2 separate regions of the Homo sapiens genome follow, and region 2 is linked to region 1. Evidence: promoter capture Hi-C in human tissues and cell types (Jung and others, 2019). All regions are on one chromosome and are shown on one strand. The core of a region is centred on a gene start or on the middle of the fragment in contact, and the rest is flanking DNA. Distances in the headings are between cores, read along the strand shown.

Region 1 (4,707 bases), core at 966-3,465:
CCATAGTAGTAATTACATCCAGAAAGAATAACCTCCATTCAAACATTACATTTTCTAAGTTTTACATTCCACTTGTTTTTTTTCTCTTGTCTGTCAAGAGACTATCAATGTTTGCATCTCAGACTCCAGATTCCCTGTTTATCAATGACGGGAGGATTAAGGATGCCTGCTTCTGCTGTGATATCATGTTTTCCCGAAGCTACCTTTCCTTATGACACAAAAGCCTGCACAACTTTAAAAAAAGTGAGGCTGGAATTCTCTGAAGCTCCAGGATCAGGGTCTTCAGGGTCTACTTAGGAGACACCAGGACTCCACAAATCCACTGAGATGGAAGTTGGGAGTGTGGCAAAAACTGACTTCCCTCTCCACTGCACTTTAGCTGAAGGAGGGATTGATAAGCGTTTTGCAAGTCTACTATCAAGTACATCACCAGATCCTTTTAGAGACAAACCAGCACCCCCAGACCCTCCACATTTAAACTGGCAAGGAAGCATTTGAAATGAATGCAGCCTCATAGAAAACAAATCTACATCCTCTCTTCTTCAGAAAGGTGGCAGTGTTGCCTTACAGTTTTGACCGAATACAACGCAGTGGTGAGGTCTCTAGCTGGTTAACAGATCAACCGCCTCACCTCACCATGGAAAGGAAAGGAAGGACTTAATCCACTGCCGACCCCAGTGGCTGGCGGACTCATCCCAGAGCTTCAGGGGCAGTGAGACTTGTGACCGCCTAAGCTCTTGAGTTTTCAACTTGCATCAACAATGAAGATCCTAAGAAAATCTCCAGTTGACTCCACAGGCATCTAAAAACCAAGGGCATCTAAGAAAGTCACAGATGAACCTTACCTCCCAGCATCTACATTTTTCCTTTTTGAACCATCCATCCCAAGTGAAACAACTGAGTTGGCCCCATGTAGAAGGGCTAAGGAAACTTTAGCTTAGCAACCTATGCCAGCATCTTTCTGACACCTGTTATGTCTAATGTTCACATCAGAGTTCTCCTAAAAGTCATCAATCTAAGTAGAAGTCCTACATTGTTGAGTGTGTTGTTAACCAGTTTTCTAAAACCAACATTATACACAGAGCTACTGAAAAATAACTTCAGAAGTCAAGTGTTGCTTTGTCTAAACGTGGAGACCCACACAGACACCTTCCATGGGCGCGTGTACAAGCCCTTCTGGAGAAGCGGTTAGAGCTCCCGTCTCTCCCTTCCACTCACCTCCACTCAGCGTCCTTTGAGAAGTTTCTCCATGTGCCACTAACACAGAAATTTTGGGGGAAATTCTCTATTTATAAATATCAGATGGTTTGGGAAAAAATATTTGTGGCACTGGGCTTTCTTTTTTTTTCTACAGTGATGTCATTTTAAATACTTGGTGTGCTCCAAATTTGCTATTTTTACTTCCCCCAAGTGACTTTTTTTGGGAAATACATTTGTTTGGATTAGCTACATTTTAAGTGACCCCTGTACCTAACACACAACATCAGGTTCATCTTCTCAGCGATTATAACCGATACTACGCAGCTTCCAAACTTGAAATCCCTTATTTGTTCATTTCCAAAGTTGCTCCCTCTGAATGTACCCCTCCAAAATTTCTATTCATAGATGCAGAGAAAATAAAATAAAAGGATTGGCCTTTTCACAGATGAACAACCACACTCGACCACCCAAAGCACTTACAACGGAAGACACGAAAGGCCCCCAAAGTCAAACAAAACTCTTCGCTTCCACAATGTGCTTTTGGGGAACAAAGTTGAGGTAGACCTGGCAGGCTTTGAAACATTTATTGGAAAGCAGTTCTAGAGTTGAGAATTGCAGAAGAGGAAAGTTTAAGAAGGAATGCTAAATGCCTTAGCCCTACCTGATCTGAACTTGCTCCTAATCAGCAAGGAATGCTCAGACCCCAGGAGTGTCATGTTGAGTCTCAGCAAGCCGCTGGTCCCTTGGCCAGGCGCCCCCTGTTCTCCACCAGCAACAGGCTCCCGGGAGCCCAGCTGACCGCAGCTAACAACCCAGAATTCATCCAACTCTCCGTGAGCTCCCCTGGGTAGGAGTACAGTGGCAGCCAGTGTCCCCAGAAAACTGGCGCCTCCCCCCTCGCCGTGCGGGGCTAATTAACTCTTAGCCGGCGGGACCCTCCTCCTCCTCGGAGGTTGGCCAGGAGCAGCGCGGCATCCCAGGCGTTCCTGTCTGATGTCATAGGCTGCCGGCGATTGCGGAGAATCGCCACCACGCCTTTATGAAGGTCCCAACTTTGCCATCTGATACCCTTTACTACTGACAGGCGCTCAGCCAATCAGGAGCGGCGAGCGGGGTCTGGGGACCCGGAGCCGCCGAAGCCGTCTCGGGAACCGGCTCTTAACTCTTTGCGGCGGGCCCCGCAGCCGCCGAGGCACAGAGGGCGGGAGCAGGGCCAGGGGTCGGGAATCTGGGAGAGGGGCGCGAGCTAAAGAGCGGATGCCCGGAGGAAAGAAGGAAGGGCTGCGACGCCGCGGGGCTTGCAGGTGGTTCGCGGGGCTGCGGCAGCCGCTGGGAGCTCCGAGGTCCTGGGGATGGGCGTGCGCAGCCGGGGCTTCCCCGGCCGGGCTTCTGCCGGCGAAAGGGAAGCGGCCGGGATCTCCCGCCAGCCGGCTGCAAAGGCTGCGCGAAAGGGCGTGCGCGCCCGCGGGACAGTTCACGCGGGGCAATTTGGAAATAAGCTGGACCCCTGAGAAGAAAAGCTTCCGACGGACCGAAGCCCACGCATTCCCCTCGGTTTGAGGGGCTCAGGGCACTGGCAGAGACGATTCTGTATCTCGCAGCTCCAATACTGGACTTAGATGCATTTCCACGGGGAAATGGAAAGGCTTTCATTTTCTAGGATATGCTTTTTGGGGGGACAAATGTGACACGGCGCATCTGGAGATCCAGCTGCGACACAACGCTCCCACCTCACAACCCCGAGGGAATGGGAAAAGATACCTGAGTTGGAGTGAAAAACCTACTGGGCTCTAAATAGGGAGGGGCTCTGGAGCAGGGGGCAAGTCAGAGCTCGGGCTGGGCTTAGCTTGGGAAGGCTCAAAAACTTTGCCTGCGAATGAGTCTCTCCTTAGGGGAAAATCCATTCCGTAACCGACCCAGAGTTATTTGTGCATCTGGCCGAGGTGTTATAGGCACATGGATCAATGAAATAAAACAAAGACCCATCTCTCAAGAAGCCCGTTAAATAGTTGGTGGCTCAGAACATAAAAACCACTCTGTATACGTATATAATTAGGGCTTATTTGCAACTTCATATGCACGTGGACCCCGGGTGTCGTCTATTACACACAAGCCTGCCTGCATACTACGAGTCCTTAAAAGATCAGTCGGTGACAGATGGAGACCCGAGGTGACAATAGCTCATGGGGACAACCTCTAATGTCCTGGTCCCGGCCTCTGCCCCATCCCCTGTTGCTGAAAACACATTAGAGGGGTTAGCCCTAGAGCTTACTCTCTGGATCTGAGCGGGGCGATTTTGTAAATAAGGTCTTCAGGGATAGACACCTTCTTGCTGATGTGTCAGAGACGAGGAAGAACAATCCATCCATGTTCCCTTTGGGGATCTAGTCCTGGCCTGGGCGCCTGTCTATAGGCTGATTTCGTGTGCAGGAGCATCTCAGCGATTACGTAACATCATTTTCCCATTCCTGCTATAACAAATTACCACGAATGTAGTGGCTTAAAACAGCACACATTAATTATCTTGCTGTTATGGAGGGCAGAAGTCCAAAGTGGGTCTCAGGGGGTCAAAATCAAGGTGTCAGCGGGGCTGCGTTAGTTTCTGGAGGCTCTAGGGGAAAATCGATTTCCTCACCTTTTCCAGCTTCTAGAGGCCGCCCGAGTACTTGGCTCATGGCCGCTTCCTCCATTTTTGAAGCCAGCAATCGTGGGTCAAGTTCCTATTGCATCTTACCGCTTTAATGCTCCCTTCCCCACCTTCTGCTTCCCTCTTCTACATTAACCTTACGGCAAAAATAAACTCTATCATAAAGTCAGTTTATTATCCTCCCTAATCTCATCCACTGCCTGGATTCCCTTTGCTGTATAATGTAACCTATTCACAGATTCCTGGGATTAGGACATGAACATGGGAGGAGAGGGCATGATTCCGCCTGAGATCTTTCTTTCTCTTCTACCTCTCCTGGTCTTCAGTCAACCCCCAGCCCCCTGGTCTTCAATGAGAAGAAGGAAAGTGGAGGGAGGTTTGGGAACGGGTGCACACAGGAGTCTGGAAGGGCTCTGACCGGCTTTGAGATGTGTGTGGCAGGGAGGTACTCTACAGGGAAGAGATTGGTGGGATAAGGAATATTGCAAAATTATCTGAGCAGAGAAAACTATTTTGAGCAACATTAAAAAAAGAAAAAAGAAAAAGCCAAACAGATTTTTATCCCGAAGGCTTTGGGGCTGAGAAGAGATACATGGCAACTTGGCAGAGAATTATTTTTTCAGTGCAAGTTGGGATGAAATTAGCTGAAGCCAGCATTGATTGTAGGGTCTGCATGACCTAGATGAGCTGGCCAGGAGTAAGTTGTTTTCTCTCTGCAGGCCTAGGGGGAGTGTGTGTGTGTGTGTGTGTGTGTGCGCGCGTGTGTGTATGTGTGGAGTGTGGTGTGTGTGTGTGTATGTGTGTTTGCAGGGAAGCAGTTTCTTTTTTTCAGTGAGTTTGGGAAATGCCAATAACCATAG
Region 2 (4,707 bases), core at 882-3,381, 150 kb after region 1:
TTGATCGGTATTATTGCATCTTTTATATGTAACATTTTTCTGATATCTGCAGTTTTCTGCCTTATGTTTCCTTTTTCACCCACCCCATTCTTCCTCCCTGGTTTTAGTGGCTCTTCTGATTCCAAGCGTCCATTTTGCAACTCTTGACTTCATCCAAGTCTCCTCAGTTGAAATCTGAAGAGATTATTTTGCAAGTGAGTCAGAAATCACTTCTTGTCAAACATGGTGCCAGAAAATGAGCAGTATCGTGCTCAGTGGGAAAGTATTTACTCTTTCTTTGCTCCTTGCAACTTGAAAGTAAATGCTTCTCTTTCCCTTCTTGGAATTTAATTTCCCAATCTCTATTCCAAAATCGACAAAGACCAGGAAGAGCATACAAGCGCTGGCTCCTCAGTCCCAGTAACATATCATATTTGTCACCTTTAATGTCCCTTAATGTCTTTGTGTCTTGTCTTTCTAATTTAGCTATGACTCCACTAGTAAAAATCATATGACTCATGTCCAAGTCCACATTTAGCAAAATTTCTAAAGCTTTGTTAGTGTGCAAGGCAATGAATATGAAATGAGGTCTGCATTCTTTATTTGGATTAAGTTTAAAGCTTTTCAAAGAACACCATCTGAAAATGTCACAGCATGACAAAGCAGCCATCCCTATAGGAGTCTACCCACAGAGTGCAGGACTCCAGGATAAAATACATTCTTTACCTTGCTGTCTTGTAACCACTCATTGCCACTTGCACGCTGGCCCCAGCAATTTTATACATGAATGAAATAAGGTAAAAATTAACAAGCAAATTCACAACAAGATTAATTTCAGATGGAAAATAATCTAGAGGAGAAAGCTAAAATGTGCTGATTAATATAGGATAGAATGAATCAAGGGTCAATAACTTTTGGCCTGGGAGCCACGTTTGACCTATTTTTGTAAATAAAGTTTTATTGGAACATAACCATGCACATTCATTTACGTATTGTCTATACAACTGCTTTCCCATTACAAAGACAGAGTGGAGTAGTTGCAACAGCCTAAAATGTTTACTATCTGTCCCTTTACAGAAAAAGTTTGCCCATCCCTGGGGTAAGCGATTGTTGGTTTCTACCCAGAATCCATTCCTCGCTTTCTCTTTCCTAACAAGATCCTGATTTATCTATGTTCGATCTCTCCCCCATACATCTCAGGTGTTTCAAGAGGTGATCACTGTCCCCCATCGGTGGGGGTGAGCCTGACCTGTCCAATGGGGGTCCCGTCAAGCTCCCCACATTAACTGGAACAGGAGCTTGGGTCTCAGCCGCTCAGCACAAGGAAACCCTCCCAATCACAGAGATTCTTTCAAAAATGGTTATGGGACCCAATTTGAATCATATGAGGAAAAGATTGCTCAAGGTTTCTGGGAAATAAGCTTCTCTGCTTTTAATAGAGGCCCACTGGAAGAAGCACTCTCTCGTCTCCTGGGTGGTGTGTGTGGTACCCTAGCCATGTTGCCACCAGGAGAAAACGTAGCCATCACAGAGAAGGGTACAGCTAAGAGAAATGCAGAGAAATAGATCTGGAATCCAGCTTTAGCTCACCTTGGAAGCTGCCTTATTTCTGGATTTCCAATTATTTGAGACAATTAATTTAATTACTCAAGCTAGTGTGAGTATTGGGTTTTCTGTTATTTGCAACATAATAATTTTTAACCAATAGACATATTTTCACTCCATTTACCTAGTGTCATAGGATGTTGTGTTAATCTTATTTATTTGTAGGCCTAAAAATGTCTTTATGTCTGGACAGAATTACCTTCCATTTCTTTCTACCAATATCTCTTGGTAGCTGCCTCTTAGAGTTACTGCTCGGCATTTTCTTAAAGAAGGAGACAGAATCCCTCAAAATTCGTGGTGGTCACTATTCTTTGTGATGCCTTTTGGTATCCTTTACTCTGTCATAGTTCTTGCTACTACTATTTCTTGATTAGAGGGTAGAAAATCTCTGTGTGATATTTCATTGCAATTCTTCATTAGCTTTCTATTTTTTGTCCTCACAACTATCCAACAATCTTAATAAGGTTTATAAGACCCTCCACGCTCTGTCCTCTGTCTGGTGCCCTGGCCTCATCCTGGACCATTGTGTCCTGCTCACTCTACTCTTGAATGCACCACTTTTTCTATTAGTTTCTCTAAGGAGCCATATTCTTTTGTGTCTCCAAACTGTTCTCTGCCTGATATGCTTCTTTCCCCATTTTCACCTATATCATTCTTGTTCATCCTTCAAATCTCAACCCAATGGTTGTTTCCTCAAAGATGGCTTGACTGATCGCCAAGACTGGTTTAGCTCCCCCTGTTACCTGCTCCCATCCACCACAGACTTCCCATTTCACAGCCCTCTAACTTACAGCCACTTATTCAAAATCTATATTCATAGTAGACGGCGAGCTCCAGGGAGGCTGAGACCAGGACATTTTTTTTTTTGGCTCACCGCTAGGTCCCAAGTCCTCAGCATTGTACCTGGCACAGAGCTGGTCCTCAATGCATAGAACTCCTGACTACATACATAGTTTTGACCATTTTTAAAGTTACAGAAAACACCAATGTTTAAATGCAGAGTACACTTCTGGTGACTCATGTCTACTGACTTGAAGAGAATGTTGGATAAACACTAATAAATTCTTATTCTCTGACTCTGTTTTCTAGAAAACATGCAGAACATCAGCTTTAAAATCTGACAACCATTTCTGTCTTAAAATATAGCAGGATCTCAGACAGGCCCTCAGAATGTACTATCTCGAACTTCTGAGCTTCTACAGAGTACATTTTAATAATTTCAGTCTTCTGATGGGAAAACCGAGATTGAAGAGGATAAGTAATTTAACTTGCTAATGACGTGTAAATCTTAAGCTGCAGACATCACCATCACAGATCACCCAGGTTGATTTTGAAACCTAGAGAGTAACTTCTCCCCAAGTAGACATGGGTGAAGATTTTGTGGCCACTTAGGTCACCGTGATTCCAGGTGTACATTCTGTCTGTCTCTGTGTTTGTGTGTGTGTTTGTGTGTGTGTACACATGCTGCTATGGCCAAAACTGTGTCCCCCAAAATTCATATGTTGAGGCTCTAATTCCCAATGTTATAGTATTTAGAGAGGGGGCCTTTGAGAAGTAATTAGGTACAGATGAGTTCCTCAGGATGGGTTCTAATAATGGAGTCAGTGCCCTTACAAGAAGAGATATTAGACAGCTCTCCTTCTTTCTCTGAAATGTGAAGGCAAAGTAAGCAGGCTGCTATCTGCAAGCCAGGAAGAGAGCCCTCACCAGAACCTAACCCTGCTGGCACCCTGATCGCAAACTTACAGCCTCCAGAATGGTGAGACAATAAATTTCTGTTGCTTATGCCATCCAGTCTACAGTATTTTGTTATGGCAACCCAAGCTTACAAAGACACCTAAAGTGAATGAAGTCTGTGTCTCATCTCCAAAATATCTCTTAAATTTCTTAGATCCTTTATCCACTTTCATTGTTTCCACTGGAATCCAATCTTCCATCATCTCTCCTGGACAGCTATATACATGTTAACCTTCCTCTTAATTGGATTCTCACATGGCAGCCAGAGAGCTATAAATCTGATATTGTTTAACCACATGCTTAAATCATTTCAAAAAACTTCTCATCACTCTTAGGAAAAAAAAAAATTCCTGATAAAGTTATCAAATATGTGGACCAAATTCTGGAATAAAAATCAAGACTTAAGAAGTCTTGATTTTTATTTAAGTCAAGACTTAAAAATGGTTGAATGCATTCAGAAAACAGCATCACTCATTTTTATATCAACTAATTTCATAAGATGTTTGAGTGGAAAGTTTTACAAAAGACTGTAAATTTCATTGATGAGAGAGGTACAGTGGCTGCCTCAGTTTTAGTCTAAGCTGCTTTAACCCCCAGAGCTCATATGTATCAGGACATGCTCCTGTGGGTCAACCAGATGTCAGTTTTCCTGAAGACAGGAGAAGCTTGTTGAGTTAGAGGTCATTTAAAGGAAAAGAAGAAACAGGAAAATAGGCTCCTTTCATTAATTTTTTTTAAAGGTACTAAGTCAGGACAGGGCCTGGAGGAGCAGGGTCATTCTGAGTTTAGCAGTTTGTCTGTCACTCAGCCAAACCAGGTATGCCATCAGTCCTGTATTCAAGTCTTTTTTTGAATAGGGGAACAATAAATGAAAAGAGGATGAGCCAGTTCAGTATAATCTCTTGAGAAAATGGAGCACAGAGAGTCACAGATCAGGTCACTGCCAACAGAGGGTAACTCAAAAGAGGGCTAGACCTTCCCTCCACTTCTTTCTTTCTTTTTCTTTTTTTTTTTCTTTGACGGAGTCTTGCTCTGTTGCCAGGCTGGAGTGCAGTGGTGTGATCTCAAGCGATTCCCCTGCCTCAGCCTCCCGAGTAGCTGGGACTACAGGCGCACGCCACCAACCCCGGCTAATTTTTTGTATTTTAGGAGAGACGGGGTTTCACCATGTTGGCCAGGATGGCCTCAATCTCCTGACCTCGTGATCCGCCCACCTTGGCCTCCCAAAGTGCTGGGATTACAGGCGTGAGCCACAGCGTGCAGCCTCCTCCACTTCTTTCTACACCTTAGGCAGCACTAGTACTTTGACAAGGGGGACAGTGGTGCTTGGCAGGAGATGCTTGTGCACGGTAGGGTGGTAGGCACTACCATGTAATAGTAACATCC

What was found. Contacts are between HindIII fragments. The study calls those that stand out against the background at their distance.
Region 2: a contact is called between a fragment that was not itself captured here and the fragment with the promoter of MYOCD in region 1, in 1 of the 25 tissues and cell types used here (aorta).

Annotation. Positions count from the first base shown.
Region 1 is chr17:12,663,398-12,668,104 of GRCh38, reverse strand. It overlaps MYOCD (myocardin), which reads right to left and starts at 2,215. Exons shown (of 14, transcript NM_001146312.3): 1 at 1,862-2,215. The coding sequence starts at 1,916. The HindIII fragment of the contact is 11,548 bases long and covers 1-4,707 here.
Region 2 is chr17:12,508,716-12,513,422 of GRCh38, reverse strand. No RefSeq gene overlaps it. Among named protein-coding and RNA genes, the nearest start is that of LINC00670, 39 kb to the left of the region's middle. The HindIII fragment of the contact is 3,132 bases long and covers 566-3,697 here.